Linked DNA regions of Homo sapiens: all the other regions are linked to region 1. Evidence: promoter capture Hi-C in 16 types of primary human blood cells and fetal thymus (Javierre and others, 2016). All regions are on one chromosome and are shown on one strand. Each heading gives the region's core, a stretch centred on a gene start or on the middle of the fragment in contact. The rest is flanking DNA. Distances are from core to core; before and after follow the strand shown. Region 1 holds the start of THSD7A (thrombospondin type 1 domain containing 7A). Region 2 overlaps THSD7A (thrombospondin type 1 domain containing 7A). Region 3 overlaps THSD7A (thrombospondin type 1 domain containing 7A).

The links. The method cuts DNA at HindIII sites, captures the fragments that hold promoters and counts their contacts. A CHiCAGO score of 5 or more calls a contact.
Region 2: a fragment that was not itself captured here is called in contact with the fragment with the promoter of THSD7A in region 1 in 1 of 17 cell types (endothelial precursors); the score reaches 5.3 in endothelial precursors.
Region 3: a contact is called between a fragment that was not itself captured here and the fragment with the promoter of THSD7A in region 1, in 1 of 17 cell types (endothelial precursors). The highest score is 6.1, in endothelial precursors.

The regions. Positions count from the first base shown.
Region 1 is chr7:11,830,887-11,833,544 of GRCh38, reverse strand. THSD7A (thrombospondin type 1 domain containing 7A) reads left to right here and starts at 1,347. Exons shown (of 28, transcript NM_015204.3): 1 at 1,347-1,788. The coding sequence starts at 1,599. RefSeq lists enhancers at 670-1,209, 1,210-1,750. The HindIII fragment of the contact is 6,451 bases long and covers 1-2,658 here.
Region 2 is chr7:11,591,869-11,594,526 of GRCh38, reverse strand. THSD7A (thrombospondin type 1 domain containing 7A) reads left to right here. Exons shown (of 28, transcript NM_015204.3): 3 at 1,025-1,273. Among named protein-coding and RNA genes, the nearest start is that of THSD7A, 240 kb to the left of the region's middle. The HindIII fragment of the contact is 504 bases long and covers 1,046-1,549 here.
Region 3 is chr7:11,616,885-11,619,542 of GRCh38, reverse strand. All of the region lies in intron 2 of THSD7A (thrombospondin type 1 domain containing 7A), which reads left to right. Among named protein-coding and RNA genes, the nearest start is that of THSD7A, 210 kb to the left of the region's middle. The HindIII fragment of the contact is 2,005 bases long and covers 347-2,351 here.

The DNA of each region.
Region 1 (2,658 bases), core at 98-2,597:
GAGGGGCTGTGTCTGGAAGGCTTTGCAAAATGACAAGGGTCCCAAGGGAGCCTTATGGAAGGTTTCCTCTTTCAGAAAGAGTAGCTTCCTCATCTTAAACTCTAGGGTAGCTATGTTGGAGTAAATTCATAAAAAGTAGTTTTCCTGCTTTTAAAATTTTATTTTATTTGGCTGAAAATTGCTGATGGGATAGTAGTTTTCTTTGGCTTTCCGTTTGCTGAATTTTTAATGGTTAAATGCCTACTATTTTAGCTTTACTGTGAAATGAATTAATAATAAAATATATTATTATTAGCTAAAGGGAGAAGGAGAAAGGGGAAAGCATTATCCGACTTCACACACATTCTTCTATTACTACTGGTAGAAGAAAGTGAAAACACAAAGGACAAAAGATGCAAACACATGTGGTTCCTTATTTAGATTGCGACAGGCATTTTGCTACAGTAAGAGTTAAGAAAAATCGGTGTCAGGGAAATTTTAAATGAAGAATTTACTAATTCCAAGATATCCAGACAGCATTACTGACTCAGTTTGACTCACAACTATCTGAATACTTAGAAGTAGCATATTTTTGAGGGAAAGAAGTAGATGAAGGGACAGAACTCTATACCTGAAATATAATTTTAATTTTAAGGGTTTTTTTTTTGTACAATTGTATTTATGTAATTAGGTAGCATTGCAAATACTCATTAACACTAATTCAGTTTTAAAGGCTATTAAAAGACAATTTAATTTGTCACAGAGCATCAATATTGCTCATATTTTTATTGATAATAGATTAAGTTAAAAACAACATTTAAAGAAGGGTTTAAGTGCATTTTGACAAGTCAACATTTCTGCTCTCGTGTTTTCACACCTGATCTCAAATACTGCTCCCCACACAAAGTAATTCAGAAGCCATGGCTTAAAAATAGATAATAAACACTGATGCTTTGTGTAAATACGTACTAAGAATAGCATGCCACTAGATCTAGCATTTGACTCCTTGGATGACAGTGAATATCAATGCCTGTTATTTGTCATTCTGAAATCTGCCGGGTGATGATTCTTTTTATTGGTGCATCCTTCCAAACATATTTCATCGCACCATGTGCACCGGAGTTCTTTAGGCGGGTATGTCGGAGGTGGGTGTCGCCTGGCTGGCCCCTCTCCCCTTTGCTCGCCCCCTTTCTCGCCCTCGCGCTCTCGCCTCCCTCTGCCTCCAGCCCCCTCTGCTCCTTTGGGCTCACGCCCCCCTCCTCCCCCTCCAGCTGGCGGGGGCTGCGCTGCCTCCCAGACCTAGCAGACCTGCTCAGTCAGCTGGGGCCCCCTGAGGACAGTTGCCTCCGGAGCCGCCGGGACCTGCCATTCTGCGAGGAATGGCAGCGGCAGCAGCATCCCCGCCAGAGGCGGCGGCGGCGGCGGCAGCGGCCACGGCCACCACCGCGGACGCTATTGTTCCCTGGTGTTAGACGCGCTCTCCCTCCTTCTCATCTGAAGCGAACAATAGCAGGAAAGAGCTTTGCTTTCTGTACTCTTTGAAAAGACGTTCCAAGAGCGGAGAAAAATTCCCTGCCGAGCGTGCTACGGCTCTGGACCCTGGAGTGGCTGCAGGCGGCATGGGGCTGCAAGCCAGGCGCTGGGCGTCCGGGAGCCGGGGCGCTGCGGGGCCGCGCCGGGGCGTCCTGCAGCTGCTGCCGCTGCCGCTGCCGCTGCCGCTGCTCCTGCTGCTGCTGCTACGCCCGGGCGCCGGCAGGGCTGCGGCGCAGGGCGAGGCGGAGGCGCCCACCCTCTATCTGTGGAAGACTGGTAAGTGGGACGGAGTTACCCTTTCCCCATCTTCACATCTGGGGCCACATTAAGGAGCTGGTGGGCTTCTGTAGGGACCCCGGTGCTTTTGGATGGCTTGGTTATGCTGGTATCCTAAGGTAAAAAGTATGATTTCTTAGGAAGCAAATAGGTCATGTCCGATGCAATTAGGAAAGAAAAGCATAACAACTAAGAGGCAACAGTGAGTAGCTGGAATATTTCTCTCGCAGCTCTGTAATGAGGGCAACGCGCACTTCCATGATGAAGTGCATTATTTTTAACCCCTGGATTTTCATTCTACTAGGAGTTTCTCAAACAGATTTCTAGCAAAGAACAAGCAAAGAGTTTAGTCTCAGTCTTTATTCTTTAGGCAAAGCAATATGCTCACTGTCATGACATTTGTGGATATAGAGTTGAATTTGTTAACTTTAGCTTTGTGATATGTGGGACACCTCAGAAACAAGCCAAGTGAGGGCGGTTCCAACAATTAAAGGCAAATGGGGCTCCAGTGAGCCTTCAGGGAAAGACTGAAAACTCAATTATTAACTAGCGAGTCGGAGGATTTTTAAAGTGTACAACTTTTAGGATGTCTGGGTTCAAACTTTCTCTTCCTTCCTTGAGAATTGTTTTGCTTTGTTTTTCAACCACCCAACAAAAGCAGCTACTAACTGCCCATCATTACCCATTGGCAAAATGCTTGGAGTTTCTGGCGGGGGCCGTGACAGGCAGGAAAACAATACGGAGTGAGGAATTACCAACCCCTTTTCTGCGGGTTCGCTTTCTCTCTGCATTAAAAAAACATTGAGAATTCCTTAGGGGACCTGAAACTTCACATGTTCATAGGAATAAAATGGGAAAAGATTATTCCTG
Region 2 (2,658 bases), core at 48-2,547, 240 kb after region 1:
TTATTTTGCATAACTCCCTAAACAGTTCACACCAAGGACTATGAGTGTTCTCCATACTATTAGAAGTAGAGTCCTTAGCATTTTGGGGTCTAATATTAAGCAGCCAACTCCAGAAATCCCAAAACCAATGAAAGAATTCCATCCTTAATATTCTGCTCCTGTAGAACCACTCCTGGTACCAAAATCTGTCTTAGTCAGGGTTCTCTAGAGGGACAGAACTGATAGGATAGATATATGTATAAAGTGTAGTTATTAAGTATTATCTCACATGATCACAAGGTCCCACAATAGGCCATCTGCAAGCTGAGGAGCAAGGAGAGCCAGTATGAGTTCCACAACTGAAGAACTTGGAGTCTGATGTTCGAGGGCAGGAAGCATCTAGCACGGGAGAAAGATGTAGGTTGAGAGGTTAGGCCAGTCTACTCTTTTCATGTTTTTCTGATTGCTTTATATTCTAGCCGCATTGGCAGCTGATTAGATGGTGTCCACTCAGATTAAGGGTGGGTCTGCCTTTCCCAGCCAGTGACTCAAATGTTAATCTCCTTTGGCAACACCCTCACAGACATGCCCAGGACCAATACTTTGCATGCTTCAATCCAATCAATTTGACACTCAGTATTAACCATCACACTTACGCAGGCATATTTACTTGATTCCCTAAACAGAATGGAAATTAGCATATGTTAACAGTTCTTGGTTTCTCATTTTCTAAGTTAAAACAAGTCTGGAATGAGTAAAATGAACAGTATGGTAAACTTAGCTTTAGCTAATTTTACTTAATTCTCTTTATTTTCTATTTCCTATGAATGGTTTAACAACTCTTAGAAAACAGAAGAATATGCAAATGTTAGCTTTGAGTCTAACTGCTTTTCCACATCATAAATGTTGATGTATTTTCGATGAAACTGGAATCACACCTCCAAGTAGAAATAAAAATGCCCAAGCTGATTCACTCTTGAGCGTAGAAGACAAAGTTCATAACTGCCTGTGAGTCTGTAATGAGAATATCAATGCTCTTTTACAGCTTTTGCCAGCAAGAGAAGCTTCCAATGACCTTCCAGTCCTGTGTGATCACCAAAGAGTGCCAGGTTTCCGAGTGGTCAGAGTGGAGCCCCTGCTCAAAAACATGCCATGACATGGTGTCCCCTGCAGGCACTCGTGTAAGGACACGAACCATCAGGCAGTTTCCCATTGGCAGTGAAAAGGAGTGTCCAGAATTTGAAGAAAAAGAACCCTGTTTGTCTCAAGGAGATGGAGTTGTCCCCTGTGCCACGTGAGTAAATAAAGAAGGGTATAGCGTCTGCCGAAACTACATTTGCTCAGCTATTTGATTTTGACTGAACAGTACTCTAAGCAACAGTAATTTTTACACATAAAAAATATCTTTACAAACAGTATCCTTAAAAAAAACTTTTTTTACAGAATAAAAGTGTCCTGACAAACTAAATCTCCATGAAATTTTTAGCACCAATTCTATGTTTATGTATTTTCTATAATAGGAGTTGCCAAAATTTTTCTGTAAAGGGGTAGATAGTTAAAACATTAAGCTTTGCAGGCCATACGTGTCTCTATTGCAATGACTCAACACTGCTGTTGGAGCTAGAGGTAATATGTAAACAACTGAGCGTGGCTGTGTTCCAATACAATTTTATTTATATAAAAAAAAAGGTGGCAGGTTGATATGATCTTGGGCCACAGTTTGTCAACCTCCATTCCACAAGGTAAAATAAACTTTCCAAATATAGATTATCGTTAACTATTAAAATTCAGTACTTTGTATAACAAATCCTATTCACTAGAGTAAAATACTACATCAAAATAATGATACTTTAAGTTCCATGAGGACAAAGATTGTGCTTACTAATATGGGGAAAAGGGTTGGGTTTTTTGCTTGTTTGCTTTTTGTTTAATTGCTAGCATATATCACAATACCTGGTACAAAATATGTGTTCAATAAATATTCATTGAATTCAGATTAAATAAGACTCATTCTGAAACATTTGGCAGTATGACAGTATTAAAATATAATTTCCAAGTTATCATTGTGAATTATTTTGGTAATAGCAATATTTCAGCTTAATCTGTATATAGGATATTTATAAAGCAACTTATATTAGTTTTTCAATAGAGATGTGTGAACTTCATTGAGAGCATCTCTGGATTATTCCAAACATTTAAAGAACATGCATATAGCTAGATCTTTATGAACCAGTGGGGAGGCAAATTACTACTACTACTATTCCTATAACAACAACAAAAAAAATAGTAATGTTTTATACCAGATATATAATTCTGCAGCACTTTGGACTCATCCATTGTGTTCTAATGTGAAAAGTGACTGAAACCTCCACAGAGAATTTCCTCCCCAATGTCTCTGCCTATCCCACTGATTGTTCTGGTTCCTCCCCACATAATAGGCTCAAGGAAGTTGCCAGGATTTCCTGTATTTTCTCTCCTATGAGTTTCCTCTATTTTTGTTGCAAGCTAAGTGCTTTATTCTTTTTCTTCTCAGATATTCAAACACAATTAACAAAATAAACATATATCCTTGAGTATCTTTCTCCATGCCCTTTTTGGGGGGAAGCATTTTTCATAGAATGTGTAACCAATCTAAATTATTGACAGGCTATTCCTCTCATTGGACTTTTTGGCGTGACC
Region 3 (2,658 bases), core at 100-2,599, 210 kb after region 1:
TAGCTACTCCAGAGGCTTTGGCAGGAGGATTTCTTGAGCCTGGGGTTTGGAGGCTGCAGTGAACTATGATTCCACCGCAGGAGTCCAGCCTGGGGAACAGAGCAGGATGCAGTCTCTTAAAGCAAAAAAAAAAAAAAAAAGTACAGTAAGAAAAGAAATTACTGTTTATTCATGTGGCTATTTTAATGTAAAAGTTTAGATAAAATACATAAATCATATCAAGATTTATCTTGGAAACCTAGTTGTTCATGCTTAGATAAAGACAAAGATCATAGTTAAATCACATCTGGGCATTTCTTGTAGTCATTGATATACAAAATCACATTAACATTTATATCTGAAAGCTTTGAAAATCCAGTGTATTTTAGTAACAAATGTAACCAGTTTCTTTATATTTCTTATTTGCTGATAATTCTTTATCTTTGTGTCCTCTAGGTTAGATATAAATATTGCCTAATATAATGATGTTTAAAAAAGTTTTTAAACATTGCGTACTCTTTATACACAATGGAAATAGACTTTTTTAATTATTTAAATTTTATGTATTACTATCTTTATTATCTTTGGATTGAGAACGATTCATTAAAATATAAAGAAAAAATAAAAGCCACCTAAAATCTTACCACTCTGAACCCTATTAACATTTAGGTGATTATGCATTACATTATATATCTAAATTCATATGTGTGCATAAATTGGATTGTATATTAATACTAAATTTATTCTTCTCCTTCTTTTTTTTTTTTCTTTTTGAGTCAGAGTCTCGCTCTGTCTCCCAGGCTCCTGTGCAGTGTTGGCGCGATCTCTGCTCACTGCAAGCTCCGCCTCCCGGGTTCACGCCATTCTGCTGCCTCAGCGTCCCAAGTAGCTGGGACTACAGGCGCCCGGCTAATTTTTTTGTATTTTTAGTAGAGACGGGGTTTCACCTGTGTTAGCCAGTGTCTTGGTCTCCTGACCTCGTGATCCGCCCGCCTCGGCCTCCCAAGATGCTGGGATTGCAGTCATGAGCCACCGCGCCCCGCCCTATTCTTCTCCTTCTTACATCATATTAAAACATCAAGCACATCCTCATTCCCCAATGGAGTGTAAGTTATGTTAATAAGGTGTATTCATATCAACCTACACATACTGATTTTACACATACACACAATTTATCTTGCTCATTTTTAGAAAATGATTTCTATTATATAAAATATACATCTTACGTGTATATACAATATGTGTGTATACAATATGCATGTGTATACAATATACATCTGCATCTTATTTTTGACTAAATAAAACCCTGTAGAAACCCCTCCAAGTTATACAGAATAGCTCTAATCCATTCTTCTTAAATTCTTTATTGTTGGACATTAATTTTATTTCTGTTTTATGATTACCATGATCAAGCCCACAATAAATAGCCACATATAAGTGTCCATATGAATTGGCATTTTAATTTCTGTAGGACATATTCCTAGGTGTGGGAATTACTGGGTCAAATTTATTTTTAAAAGATATTTCTAGATGCTTTCACAAAAGGTGGTAACACTTGACATTTTCTTTTTTTTATTGTTATACTTTAAGTTCTAGGGTACATGTGCAAAACGTGCAGGTTTGTTACATATGTATACATGTGCCATGTTGGTGTGCTGCACCCATTAACTTGTCATTTACATTAGGTATATATCCTAGTGCTATCCCTCCCTCCTCTCCCTACCCCACGACAGGCCCCAGTGTGTGTTGTTCCCCTTCCTGTGTCCAAGTGTTCTCATTGTTCAATTCCCGCCTATAGTCCTTGTGATAGATTGCTCAGAATGATGGTTTCCAGCTTCATCCATGTCCCTACAAAGACATTAACATCTAATATTAACATCTAATAAAAGGTAAATCTAACGTAACAACAAAGGAATAGATGATTGTTGATAACCTGTGTAAGTAGAATGCTAGAGTGTGAAGTATTAGTGTTATTTGCCAACAATAAAATATTAGAAATATATTTATCTATCCTAGGTCTCCGTTAGCATTCATGTAATATAGTTAAAATTTCTGTACTTCCAATAAGAATTTGTAGGTAATTTACAACAATAAAGCTGAATGAATGAAAGAGTGAATGAATGAATCATACATACATACATACAAATATACGTGCAATTAGTAAGATGAGAGGAAGGAAGATATATGAAGTTTTAGGAGCACTTTTGCAAGAGGGCTATAGTAATTGAAAACAAAAGTTAGATTGATATACCTGAGCAGCAAATAGAAAATATGAAAGATGATTTGTCTTTAAAATGTGTATGCATGTGTGTATGTTATGCATGTATTGTACTTTTCCTGTCAGTTTCTGATGAATGTTGAGAACATAAGCTTATATAATAGTTCCGGTAAAACAATTCAAGAGGGGCCAAAGTACTATGGACCAACCAAATAAAATGTTACTTTTGGTTTGAGGAAGTCTTAGTTCCTAGACTATTATGCTCAGATATATTTGTGTATACAACTTACAGCTATTTTGCAATGCACAAATATAGCATCACTGTGATATGTTTTTAAATATTGCTTATACTCTTTATTCACAAGTTTTCTTCTGTTTATCCTTGAATAATAAGATGATAATTACATTTTTAAAATAAAAACATTTAAATGAATGATTCTGTACACAATAAAATCAAAAAC